Regions from separate parts of the Homo sapiens genome. Here all the other regions are linked to region 2. The links are contacts of gene promoters, found by promoter capture Hi-C in human tissues and cell types (Jung and others, 2019). All regions are on one chromosome and are shown on one strand. Each heading gives the region's core, a stretch centred on a gene start or on the middle of the fragment in contact. The rest is flanking DNA. Distances are from core to core; before and after follow the strand shown. Region 1 holds the start of TMEM135 (transmembrane protein 135). Region 2 holds the start of FZD4 (frizzled class receptor 4). Region 3 overlaps TMEM135 (transmembrane protein 135). Region 4 overlaps TMEM135 (transmembrane protein 135).

Region 1 (3,143 bases), core at 440-2,939, 82 kb before region 2:
TAGGAAAGCAGAGGTTCAGGCCCCACCAGGACCTAATGAATTAGAACCCCCATTTTAACATAATCCTCAGAGGATTCCTAACATACATGAAAATGTGAGAAGCATCAGTCTATACAATAAAAATGAAATGGGTGCCTGCAACCTCAAACAAAGTCATCACCTTCTCCTGTGTTATCTCTGAAATACATAATCAGACTTTTCAAGAAGTACTACAGATACAGCCATGACACACTTTCAGGAACATTAGGGTATAAATCTAAATTACTTCAATGAGAAATAATAATTGATCATCTGCTGAATATTGAAACTTTTAGAAGACATACAAAAAATATGATCTGTCTTCTTAGGACACAAACTGTAAGGCAAGAAAATGAGACAATGCACTTCAATGGCCAAAGTAATAATAAATCTTTAATATCAAGGATAAGATTATTGAAAAAAAGATTTTGCGGAGAACATTTAAGAGCATCTTTAATAGTCCTCAGTGTTACATATACATACTGCCAAATATTCCCTATTAATTGCCCTGTATGTAAAGTTGTGTAACAGAAGGTCCTAGGTGACACAAAGTCAGATGTCCTAACCAAGTTCACTGACTGAAAGACTGGCATCACCCTTTAAATCACCACACACAATCTCAACCCAGGAGTCTGTTCTGTGAACTTGCAAAAACACTTGCAAAACCCCCAAATCACAATCCTGTCATCTCAAAACTGAGTCAAGATCTGAGGCCACAGGGACTTAGGGCCAAATATGCCTTCTTCATTAAAAAAAAAAAAAAAAAAAAGCAAAATAAAACAGGGGAAACTAGATGAGGAAAGATTGCAGGTCCTTCTCATAGCCTCGCTGACCTACAAATACCTCTCCATCACAAGGCAGGCCAGAGGAAAATAAGGCTGGTCTTTGAATTAACGTTTTTAAGTGTCCTAAACTTAATTCTAAAAGTTGGGAGCCATCCTCTTCCTAGCAACAGGCATTCAGATGACAGCTCAATCTCTAATTCCCCTCCTCCTTCTCCCTTGCAGGAATTGGTATATCCTTCCCTTGCGACCTCCCCCTTCCCCCTACCGACCCCCCAAAACACTCCGACCCCTCCAAAAGAGAGCCCGACACAAGGCAAGTCCCCCAGAGCCCCTCGGGAGCACCAACTGCAGCCCCCGGCCCATCTTCCAGACTAAACTCGCCCTGCGGGACGGGTGACGGGTCTCACCAAGTACAGAGGAGCATAGATCTTCAGGGACTCCTCCAGGGCGCCCCCGGTGATCTGCAGGAAGGAGACCCGGCAGGAAGGGTGCCAAGTGTGGCCGATCTCATAGCAGTTATGAGGGATGGACTTGCTGAGGGCCGCCATGACGAGGAACAGCGCGGAGAAGACAGGAGGGGGAGAGCCTGAGCCCTGCAGGGAGGGGCGCGAGAGCCCAGCCGCCAGCCTCTCGCCCGGCCAGCACTCGGAGGTGCGGAATGGAGGGGAAAGGTCACGAGAGCGGGGTTACTCTGGGCCAAAGTCCTCGGATGTTGAGCGCTCGGCGTATCGCAGCTCAAGGGGGCGGGACGCGCACCGGGGAGGCGGGGAGAGGCGGCGCGTGCGCGCTCCCTCAAGAGGGCATCCGCTGGGGCGCGTTCCCGCGCGGCGGCGCGGCTGGGTGAGCGGAGGCAGAGAGGATCTTCGCACCCAGAGCCGAGGCTGTACGCGAGGGAGCGCAGCTCGGGGACGAGCCGCCTCCCCACCCCCGCGACGCCGTGCCCGGCTCCGGGGCGCAAGCGCTATGGCAGGTGCGCAGTAGGGGGTGGCTTGGGTCAAATTGTACTTCAGCTTCCAACTGCAAGCCAAGTAGAGCGGAGGGTAGTGGAAGAAAGGGATTAAATGTCTTTGTTGGGAGCTGGTGGAGGAAGAGGGTTGCCAGAGGAATGCCTGGGACAAACGTCCTCCCCAGCACCGGGAGCTTGCCTTCCCGAGAGTCCCAGGTAATAAACAGCTAGGGCTGCCTGCTAGTTGCAACTAACTACCCCCAAGTGCTGGGCTTTCCAAGCTCTGTGATACCTGCGAAGGCTTGAAAAGTCTCAGCTATGTTCATACCCCGACCGTGTGTGGGGAAGGGCAATAGGTCATCCTGTCCAAACCTTAGGCCACGGAGCAATCCTGTCTACAGCATCTTTGATAGGTGCTTATCAACCAAACAGCACACACAGTAGAGGCGGCAGTCGTGTGTTAGAACTCAGACCTGGCTAGGGAACTTGGCCAACAATTAGCAAGACAAGGGTCCTGTGTTGCTTGAGTCATATAACCCCTCTGTCAATCTCCTCACATGTAACAAACCTGCCAGTTTCTTTGGATTTCTAAATTCCATAGTCTCTTAAAGCAGAAACGAACTACCTTTAGAAGAATTCCATTCGAATCTTCTAGTCTTCATTCATTCATCTACAAATATTTACTGAGTCATTACTATTTACCAGGCACTGTGCTAAGGAAACAAACAGAAACAAGAGAGACAAGATTTTTATTTTCACGAAGCTAGTATTCTAGAGGGAGAAGACAGAAAATAACAAAGAAAACTGAACAAGATAATATCAGATAGGTGTAGTTGTTTGAAGAAAATAAAAGAGAAATACTCAGATGAAAAGTCCAAAACAACAATGGCAAAAAGATAAAAGTATCTTTCTCTCAGGTAAAGGTAGGCAGTCCTAGAATAAAATGGTGGCTCCATAACGATTAGGGATCCCAGCCTCTTTGTGACAGTTTGCTATGCCATCTGCTACCTGTGATTTCCACCCTAACTTAGAAAATAACATGACATCAACATGCTAGCCAGGAAGACCAGCAAAAGGGGAAGAGAGGCCGGGCGCGGTGGCTCACACCTGTAATCCTAGTACTTTGAGAGGCTGAGGCGGGTGGATCACTTGAGGTCAGGAGTTTGAGACCAGCCTGGCCAACATGGTGAAACCCTGTCTCTACTAAAAATACAAAAATTTGCCAGAAATGGTGACACGCTCCTGTAATCGTAGCTACTCAGGGACTGAGGCAGGAGAATCGCTTGAACTCAGGAGGCAGAGGTTGCAGTGGGCCAAGATCACACCACTGTTGCCTTGGCAACAGAGAGAGACTCTATCTCAAAAAAAAAAAAAAAAAAAAAACGGGGGGGCGG
Region 2 (3,225 bases), core at 143-2,642:
GAAACACATACACACACACACACACACACACACACACACACACACACCCCAATCACCAAGTTCTTCAGCATTTATTATGTGTCAGACACTGCTAAATGATTTACAGGTATTATCTCACTGAACTCTTAGAACAACTGTGTGAGGTGGATATGAACTTCCCCACTTTACAGCCGGCCACTTTGAGGCTCAGAGAGGCACCATAGCTTCAACACAGTCAAGCAACAAGTAAACGGTGGAGGAATCCACCTGCTGGGAGTTTACTGGCCGACTGGAAAGCAGAGAGAGGGTGGACCAGCACAAAGCCGCGGGGGGCTGGTAATGAGACAGGAAAGTTGGGTTCAAACCTGGGTCACATGATCCCCAGATCCCTAGGAGCCGAAGCAGAAGCAAAGAAAAAAAGGGGTGCAGCCTGGTGGGGAGGGGGTGCCCGGGAGGCCGGGAGAGAGGAGTCACGGTGGTTGTGCGCCTTCCTCGTCCCCAGTGCACAGGTCAAGCCTCTCCCCTCCCGCCCTCTCACCCTCCCAACCTTATTTAGAAACCGTGTCCCCGAGACAGGAAGGGCGGCGGGCCGAGAAGCACGGAGAGTCCCGGTCTCATTTCCTTTCGAATCCCCCTGTGGAATTTCATTTCATACGGTGAGGAAATCAGAGCGCGAGACCGTCGGCGGGTCTGCAGCTCCGCAGCTCTGGGGCGCCTCCCCGCTGGCGGCTGGAGGTGGGCGGCTCCCTGCGCAGGTCGGGCGAGTCTGGGGGCGGGGAGAGGCCGGGCCCCGATCGCCGCTGGTCCGGAGTGAAAATAGCTGTGGACTCACGCAGTACCAGGCACCATGCTAAGCCTTCTACACTTTATCTCTAATCCTCCCAAGTGACTTTACAGAGGAGACTGACGCCGAGGGGTTGAGCAATTTGCTCAAGGTCACACAACCGGGACTGAAAGCCACAATCGGTGTAAATCCAAATCCCCAATTCTTTGTGTACGTTTCTCTGCCTGACGGGGAGGTGGCCACCGGCCTAGGTTACAGCTGAAAGGAGACAGGAAGGAAAGGGGGCAGATGGAACAGGGCGCACTTCTCACCTGCAGAAGGGGGCAGGACGGCGTGGCTGGAGCCACTGGGCTGCGTCCCTGCTTGGCCCCTGCGCGCCTAGATCCGGGTGGGAGGAAAGCAAGAGCCGGGAGGCGGGCGGGGCGGGGCGCTAGGGGAGGGAGGGAGGGAGGGGCGGCCGGAGGAGGGGGCCGGAGGGCGGGGGCCTGACTCCTCCTGCGGGAGAGCGGCCCCGCCCCGCCGCCTCGCCCCTAGCTGCCCACCGCGCCCGGCCATTGGAGAGGCCCGCTGTCCGTCCCGCCCCGCCGCCGCGCCGCGAGCCTCCAGCGCCGCGCAGGGCTCCGGCGGTGAGAGCTGCGCAGCGCTGGCTGCTGGCTGGCCTCGCGGAGACGCCGAACGGACGCGGCCGGCGCCGGCTTGTGGGCTCGCCGCCTGCAGCCATGACCCTCGCAGCCTGTCCCTCGGCCTCGGCCCGGGACGTCTAAAATCCCACACAGTCGCGCGCAGCTGCTGGAGAGCCGGCCGCTGCCCCCTCGTCGCCGCATCACACTCCCGTCCCGGGAGCTGGGAGCAGCGCGGGCAGCCGGCGCCCCCGTGCAAACTGGGGGTGTCTGCCAGAGCAGCCCCAGCCGCTGCCGCTGCTACCCCCGATGCTGGCCATGGCCTGGCGGGGCGCAGGGCCGAGCGTCCCGGGGGCGCCCGGGGGCGTCGGTCTCAGTCTGGGGTTGCTCCTGCAGTTGCTGCTGCTCCTGGGGCCGGCGCGGGGCTTCGGGGACGAGGAAGAGCGGCGCTGCGACCCCATCCGCATCTCCATGTGCCAGAACCTCGGCTACAACGTGACCAAGATGCCCAACCTGGTTGGGCACGAGCTGCAGACGGACGCCGAGCTGCAGCTGACAACTTTCACACCGCTCATCCAGTACGGCTGCTCCAGCCAGCTGCAGGTGGGCGCCCCCACCCCCACCCCTGGCGGGACCCCTTGGGGAGGGACGCTCCAAACTAACTTTGCAGAGCCCATGCCAAGTTGATCATCCTAGCCCGAAGGAGACAGCTCTCCTGGAAAAGTGATTTCCATCCCCACCCCCACTTTCTCAGGGACTGGAAGCCAAAACGTTGTGTAAGTCATCTGGCCTGGGAAAGAACCCACTCTTACACCCCGCCCTTCCGTTTTTCTCTCTTGCCCACCCATGTCTGGCCCAGACCCCTAACCCCAGTGGAGCTGAGGGTTATCTCTGCCAAGGATTCTGGCCGCCACTGCTCGGTGGGCGAGTGGGAGGGAGCCAGCTGCAGCTAAGACTTGGAGGGAGTGATAAGGAGACCATCCTTCACCGAACTTCCTTCTCCCCACTATTTTTGGGGTGTTATTAAATGAAACACTACTGCACCTTTTTCTGCTGAATAGCCCCTTCTCACGACGTCCCGCAGCGTTTTAGAGGTCATGCATGAAGGAGTGGTTGGGTTGGCTTGAGTTCTTTCTTATCCTCACAGTTGAAGGCACGTTTAATGCTTGGAGGGTGAGAAGAAGCTGCAGGAAGGTGGTTGGTATATTGGAAGAAATTTTTTTGCAGTCATTAAAAAATGTAAAGCATATCTAATGATAGAGAAAATGTTTATTCCACAGTAATAAGAATTTGCATATACAGGGTGATTATAATCCTGCAAAATAAAAAATTTATTGGGATAATAAAAGACTGACAGGAAAATTTTTAAAGTGTTAACATTGGTTATGTTTGGGTTGGTGAGGCTGGGTGATTTTTAGAAATTTAGAAAAGAGAGAAGTTGTGGGAAAAAGTAGACGTTAGTTGTCCAGGCTTCAGAAATCTGGTTTCTGGCCGGGCGCAGTGGCTCACGCCTGTAATCCCAGCACTTTGGGAGGCCGAGGCAGGTGGCTCACGAGGTTAGGAGTTCGAGACCAGCCTGACCAACATGGCGAAATCCTGTCTCTACTAAAAGTACAAAAATTAGCCGGGCGTGGTGGCGTGCGCCTGTAATCCCAGCTACTCAGGAGGCTGAGGCAGGAGAATCGCTTGAACCCAGGAGGCAGAGGTTGCAGTGAGCGGGGATTGCACCATTGCACTCTAGCCTGGGCCACAGGAGCGAAACTCCGTATCAAAAAAAAAAAGAAAAGAAAAGAAATCTGTGGTTCTGGCTGTAACTTCTGAGAGATAATAAACAGACATACA
Region 3 (3,232 bases), core at 73-2,572, 100 kb before region 2:
AACTTTACCCTCTTCCTTGTCCAAGATCTATAAGATTTACTTTTTTTCTTTCTTTTTTTTTATTCAGAGTCATGCTCTGTTGCCAAGGCTGGAGTGCAGTGGCGCGATCTCCGCCCACAGCAACCTACACCTCCCGGTTCAAGCGATTCTCCTGCCTCAGCCTCCCAAGCAGCTGAGACCACAGGCATGTGCCACTGCACCCAGCTAATTTTTGTATTTTTAGTAGAGACAGATTTTCACCATTTTATGCAGGCTGGTCTCGAACTCCTGACCTCGTGATCTGTCTGCTTTGGCCTCACAAAGTGCTGGAATTACAGGCGTGAGCCACCACGCCCGGCCCCAAGATCTGTTAATAAGTACTTTTTATAAATAAGATAACAAATATAAAGTATTTAGCAGAGTAACTAGCACATAGTAGGCATTTTGAAAATGCTAGTTTCCTTCACTCTGCAGAATTGCTTCCTGATTCAACCCCAATTCCTTCTTGTGTTGTGCAGTTTTGTTTTATTAAGTGTTAAGAAGAGATTTCCTCTCTGGTAATCAGAGTATCTGGGAAAGGCCAGGTGTGGTAGCTCATGCCTGTAATCCCAGAACTTTGGGAGGCTGAGGCGAGTGGATCACTACAGGTCAGGAGTTCGAGACCAGCTCAGCCAACATGGCAAAACCTTGTCTCTACTAAAAATACAAAAATTAGCCAGGCGTGGTAGCACACGCCTGTAATCCCAGCTACTTGTGAGGCTGAGGCAGGAGAATCACAGGAGAATCGCTTGAATCTGGGAGGCAGAGATTGCAGTGAACCGAGATCACGCCATTGCACTTCAGCCTGGGCAACAGAGCGAGACTCCATCTCAAAAAAAAAAAAAAAGAACTTCAAACAACAGAACTAAAGTAGGATATTCATCCATAATCAAAAGACCTCCTGTATTTTTTTTCTAAAAATTTTTCGGCTGGGCGCGGTGGCTGACGTCAGCACTTTGGGAGGCCGAGGCAGGTGGATCGCCTGAGGTCAGGAGTTCAAGACCAGCCTGCCCAACATGGTGAAGCCCCGTCTCCACAAAAATACAAAAATTAGCCAGTCATGATGGTGGGTGCCTGTAATCCCAGCTACTTGGGAGGCTGAGGCAGGAGAATTGCTTGAACCCAGGAGGTGGAGGTTGCAGTGAGCCAAGATTGCACCACTGTACTCCAGCCTGGGTGACAGAGCGAGACTCTGTCTCAAACAAACAAAAAAATTAAATTAAAATTAAAATTAAAAATAAGACCTTGTTCTCATGCCTGTAATCCCAGCACTTTGGGAGGGTGAGGCAGGCAGATCATGAGGTCAGGAGATGGAGACCATCCTGGCTAACATGATGAAACCCCGTCTCTACTAAAAATACAAAAAAATTAGCCGGGCATGGTGGTGGGCGCCTGTAGTCCCAGCTACTCGGGAGGCTGAGGCAGGACAATGGCATGAACCCAGGAGGTGGGGCTTGCAGTGAGCTGAGATCGCGCCACTGCACTCCAGCCTCGGCAAGAGAGCAAGACTCTGTCAAAAATAAAATAAAATAAAATAAGACCTTGTTTTTAAAAAACAATTTATCATAGGCCAAGGCGGGTGGATCACTTGAGACCAGAAGTTCAAGACCAGTCTGGCCAACATAGCGAAACCCAGTCTCTACTAAAAATACAAAAAATTAGTGGAGTGTGGTGGCACACGCCTGTAATTCTAGCAACTCAGGAGGCTGAGGCAGCAGAATCACTTGAACCCAGGAGACAGAGGTTGCAGCAAGCCAAGATCACGCCACTGCACTCCAGCCTGAGTGACAGAGCAAGACTGTCAAAAAAATAATAATAATAATAATAAAGGAGGCAGAATTATTTGTTGTAACAAACAAATTTTTCTGTATACCATGTTTAATTTTATGTATCAATCTAACTGGGCCAAGGAATGCCTAGACATTTGGTCAAATGATATTCTGGGTATGTCTATGAGGGTGCTTCTAGGTGAGATTAACATTTGAATCAGTAGACTGAGAAAAAGATTGTCCTTCCTAATGTGAGTAGGCTTCATCCTCTCAGTTGAAGACCTGAAGAGAACAAAACAACAAACTCCTCCTGCCTGATTTCTTGAGCTAGGACACTGGTATTTTCCTGCCTTCAGACCTGACTGAAACACCAGTTCTTCTTGGGTCTACAGCCTGCTGGCTTCCAGACTGGAACTTACACCATTGTCCTCTTCTAGTACTCAGGCCTTTGGACTCACACTGGAATTACACATTGGCTCTCTGGGTCTCCAGCATGCCAACTGCAGATCTTGGCATTTATTAAGCCTCCAAAATTGTGAGCCAATTCCTTATTTTATACACACACACAAACACACACACACACACACACAGAGGCTTCTGTTTCTTTGAAGAACTCTAATAAGCTAAATCTGAATTGCTTCCAACGTCTTTATTTTTAAGGTTAGAATCATAAGCTACAAAAGCCAAATATAAATATCTCAAACAAAATAACAAGAAACCAAGTATTATAGACCAATATTTACCTATCTTCTTACAGTTTTTAAAGCTTTTATATGTGCACTATCTCATATGATTCCCACAGCAAGCCACGAAGTTAAGGCAAGATTCTCTTCTACTTATAAATGAAGAAATCGCATCATAAATCGCAAAGCAAAACAAAAACTCAGATCTTGTAACTCACAACCAGTGCATTACACCATGCTGCCCCCAACAGATACAAGAATCAGCTTATTAAAAACAAAACAAGAAAGCCAAAAAACTAGGGCAACTTGTTAATAATATATGTGGGAAGATACAAGCAATCTTCAAAAGTTTTCCGTAATGATGATACTGTAAAGCCTCCCTGTAATGAAAATCATACCATTCAAACTTTAGCGATGACCATTAAGCCTTACATACCTTACCTGTAATAGCCTTCCTCTCCTACATTTTCAAATTTTTATATAAAAGTTGAGATAGGCTTTCAAGATAAAAATAAAAATATACTTAAGTTACAATACTGAAACAAAATGTGATCAGGAACAAGACTCAGACTGAGTCCTGCGTATATTATACCCATGTTCAAAACTGAGTAATACCAATATTTTTGTAATATAGGGAAAGTCTTGAAAACACACACCTGTCACTTCAACTTTTAGTGATGGAACTCCCAGGCAGCACTACAACTTTAAACCAAAACACTCTTTCATACCCTGCCATCTTCTGCATACTTAAGTACAAATATC
Region 4 (2,919 bases), core at 300-2,799, 120 kb before region 2:
TGGTACAACCACTTTGGTAAACAGTTTGGCAGTTCCTCAAAAAGCTAAACAGAGTTGCCATATTAAGGCAGCAATTCCATTCCTGAGTACATAATCCAGAAAAATAAAAACATATGTCCACACAAAAATGTGTCCACAAATGTTTAGTGTAGCAACATTCATAACCAAGAAGTGGGACAATCCAAATTTCCATCAACTTATGAATAAATAAAATGTGACATATCCATATAATGAATTATTTGGCAATAAAAAGTAATGTAATGAAATGATACGTATGACATCAAACTTCAAAACCATTACACTAAGTAAAAGAAGCCAGTCACCAATGACACATATTGTATGACTCCATTATATAAAATGTCCAGAAGAAGCAAATCTTTAGAGACAGAAATTAGTGGTTGCCTAGGGCTGGGTGAGGAGGATGAAGGATTAGGGGGTGACAGTTAAAGGGGTTTCTATTTGAGGTGAATAAAGTGTTCTAAAATTGTTTGTGATGGTAGTTAAACAACTTTGTGAATATATTAAAAACAAATGAATTGTGCAGTTTTCAAAAGGGTGAACTGTATGGAATATGAATTATGACTCAATAAAGCTATTACAAAAACAGAAAAATCATTTGCAATTGTTCCCAAAAAGGGAAACAGGTGTAAATCTAACACGTATATGAAACGCATTCTGCAAATTATAAAAACTGATGAAAAGAAATAAAAGATCTAATTAAATGGAGAGATAAACCATGTCCATGGATGGAGCAGCCAAAAACTGAAAATAACATAAATGTCCTTCGACAAGTGAATGTTTAACAAACTCTGGTACATCCATATAGTAGAATGCTACTGGGCAATAAAAAAGGAATAAGCTTAGTAATACAAGCTACATCTTAGATGGATCTCAAAGGCATCATGCTTAGTTTAAAAAAGAAAAAGCCTATGTCCAAACGTTATACATTGCATCATTCCATTTATATAACTTCCTCGAAATGATATAAATATAGAAATGAAAAGTAGACTAGTTGTTACCAGGAGACAGGAATTGATGAAAATGGTGCAACTACAAAGGGATAGTTCAAGGGCAATCCTTGGTAGTGTTGAAACAGTTTTGGACATTGATTGTAGTGGTGGGTAAACAACTCTATACATGGGAACAAACTGCATAGACATGTACACAAATGAGTATACATAAGAATTAGTGAATACTGAATGAAGTCTATAGTGTAGTTGACAGTAATGTCAACTTCCTGGTTTTATATTATACTACAGTTAAATAAGATGTCATCACTGGATACCAGCTCAGCCACAGTAGGAGAAGAGACCAGGCAGAGTCATGAAGGATCCATTCCAAGCCTTGCTCCTGGATGACATTTCTAGACATACCTTGGGCCAAAAGGGAACCTGCTGCCTTGAAGGAAAGCACCCAGTACTGGCAGGATTCATCACCTGCAGACTAACAAGCCCTTAGACCCTGAATAATTAGGAGCGATACCCAAGGAGTATGCCGTAGCCTTGGGCTCTGAGACATGCCCACTACAGATGTGACCTAGCACATTCCCAGCTGTGGCTGGCTATGGCAAAAGACTCCTTCTGTCTGAGAAAAGCAGAAGGAAAACAAAAGGGAACTTTGTCTTGCACGTAGGTACCAGCTTGGACACAGTGGGGTAAAGCAACAAGCAGGCTCCTGGAGTCCCCAAGTCCAGGTCTAGGCTCTTGGACAGCATTTCTGAACCTACCCTAGGCCAGAGGGGGGGCCTACTGCCCTGAAGGGTGAGTCCCAGGCCTGGCAGCATTTACTACAGGCTGACTGAAGAGCCTGTGGTATTTAAGTGAACATCAGCAGTGGCCAGTCAGAAGCCTGCCATGGGCTGGTGGTGGTGGTGCCCACATGGAGAGGCTCCTCTGCCTGTGGAAAGGGGAGGGAAGAGTGGGAAGGACTTTATATTGTGGTTTGAGCACCAGTTTAGCCACAGTGGAAAAGAATATCAGGCAAACTTTTCTTACTCCTATCCCTGGCTCCCAGACAATATCTTTGGACCTGCCCAGGGCCCGGGAGAACTTGTCACCCAGAGGGAAGGACAAAACCTGGCTGGCTTTGCCACCTGTTGATTATAGAGCCCTAGGGCTTTGAGTGAACACAAGTGGTAGCCAAGTAATGGTTACAGCAAGCCTTGGGCAAGACCCACTGCTGTGCTAGCTTCAAGTCTGACCCAGCGCAGTCCCAGGGATGGTAGCCACAGGGATGCTTGTGTCACCTCATGCTCAGTTCCAAGCAGTTCAGCACACAGAGAGAGAGAGAGAGACCCTGTTTATTTAGGAGAAAGTAAGGGAAAAGAACAAGAATCTCTGCTTTAATCCAGAGATTTCTTCTGGATCTTATACAAGACCACCAAGGCAGTACGTACCTCTACACGTCAGCAAAAACCATAATGATATTGGGCTTGGGACCCAATTGTTGAACCAATTCACCAATTCCATGAAGAAATAACTCAGACAAATCAGAAATGTATTACATACAACGAGACAACTGGCCTGGTCACTTCAATAAAGCAATGCTGTAGAGGGAAAAAGTGGAGACACTATCTTAGATTAAAAGAAAATAGGCCAAGTGCAGTGGTTCACATCTGTAATCCCAACAGTTTCAGTGGCCAAGGCAGGAGGATCACTTGAGCTCAGGACCGGCCCAGCCTGGGCTACACAGTGAGACCTCAGCTACTTAATATAAAAATAAAAAATTGGACCGGGTGCAGTGGCGAACGCCTGTAATCCCAACACTCTGGGAGGCTGAGGCGGGCAGATCACGAGGTCCGGAGATCGAAACCATCCTGGTTAACACTGTGAAATCCCGTCTCTACTAAAAATACAAAAAAAAAAATTAGCTGGCGGGCACCTATAGTCCCAGCTACTCGGCAGGCTGAGGCAAGAGAAT

Evidence for each region. Contacts are between HindIII fragments. The study calls those that stand out against the background at their distance.
Region 1: a fragment that was not itself captured here is called in contact with the fragment with the promoter of FZD4 in region 2 in 6 of the 25 tissues and cell types used here (adrenal gland, aorta, bladder and 3 more).
Region 3: a fragment that was not itself captured here is called in contact with the fragment with the promoter of FZD4 in region 2 in 6 of the 25 tissues and cell types used here (H1 embryonic stem cells, dorsolateral prefrontal cortex, liver and 3 more).
Region 4: a fragment that was not itself captured here is called in contact with the fragment with the promoter of FZD4 in region 2 in 2 of the 25 tissues and cell types used here (heart left ventricle and neural progenitor cells).

What each region holds. Positions count from the first base shown.
Region 1 is chr11:87,036,254-87,039,396 of GRCh38, reverse strand. It overlaps TMEM135 (transmembrane protein 135), which reads right to left and starts at 1,463. Exons shown (of 15, transcript NM_022918.4): 1 at 1,211-1,463. The coding sequence starts at 1,351. It overlaps LOC105369422 (a long non-coding RNA gene), which reads left to right and starts at 1,602. Exons shown (of 5, transcript XR_007062827.1): 1 at 1,602-1,773. RefSeq lists a silencer at 1,442-1,831 and an enhancer at 1,488-1,988. The HindIII fragment of the contact is 9,814 bases long and covers 1-3,143 here.
Region 2 is chr11:86,953,562-86,956,786 of GRCh38, reverse strand. FZD4 (frizzled class receptor 4) reads left to right here and starts at 1,392. Exons shown (of 2, transcript NM_012193.4): 1 at 1,392-1,986. The coding sequence starts at 1,702. It overlaps FZD4-DT (FZD4 divergent transcript), which reads right to left and starts at 1,166. Exons shown (of 3, transcript NR_038905.1): 1 at 1,075-1,166. RefSeq lists silencers at 665-814, 1,165-1,534, 1,665-1,714. The HindIII fragment of the contact is 8,131 bases long and covers 1-3,225 here.
Region 3 is chr11:87,056,941-87,060,172 of GRCh38, reverse strand. The region is part of intron 1 of TMEM135 (transmembrane protein 135); the gene reads right to left. Among named protein-coding and RNA genes, the nearest start is that of TMEM135, 21 kb to the right of the region's middle. The HindIII fragment of the contact is 7,883 bases long and covers 1-3,232 here.
Region 4 is chr11:87,075,263-87,078,181 of GRCh38, reverse strand. The region is part of intron 3 of TMEM135 (transmembrane protein 135); the gene reads right to left. Among named protein-coding and RNA genes, the nearest start is that of TMEM135, 39 kb to the right of the region's middle. The HindIII fragment of the contact is 5,757 bases long and covers 1-2,919 here.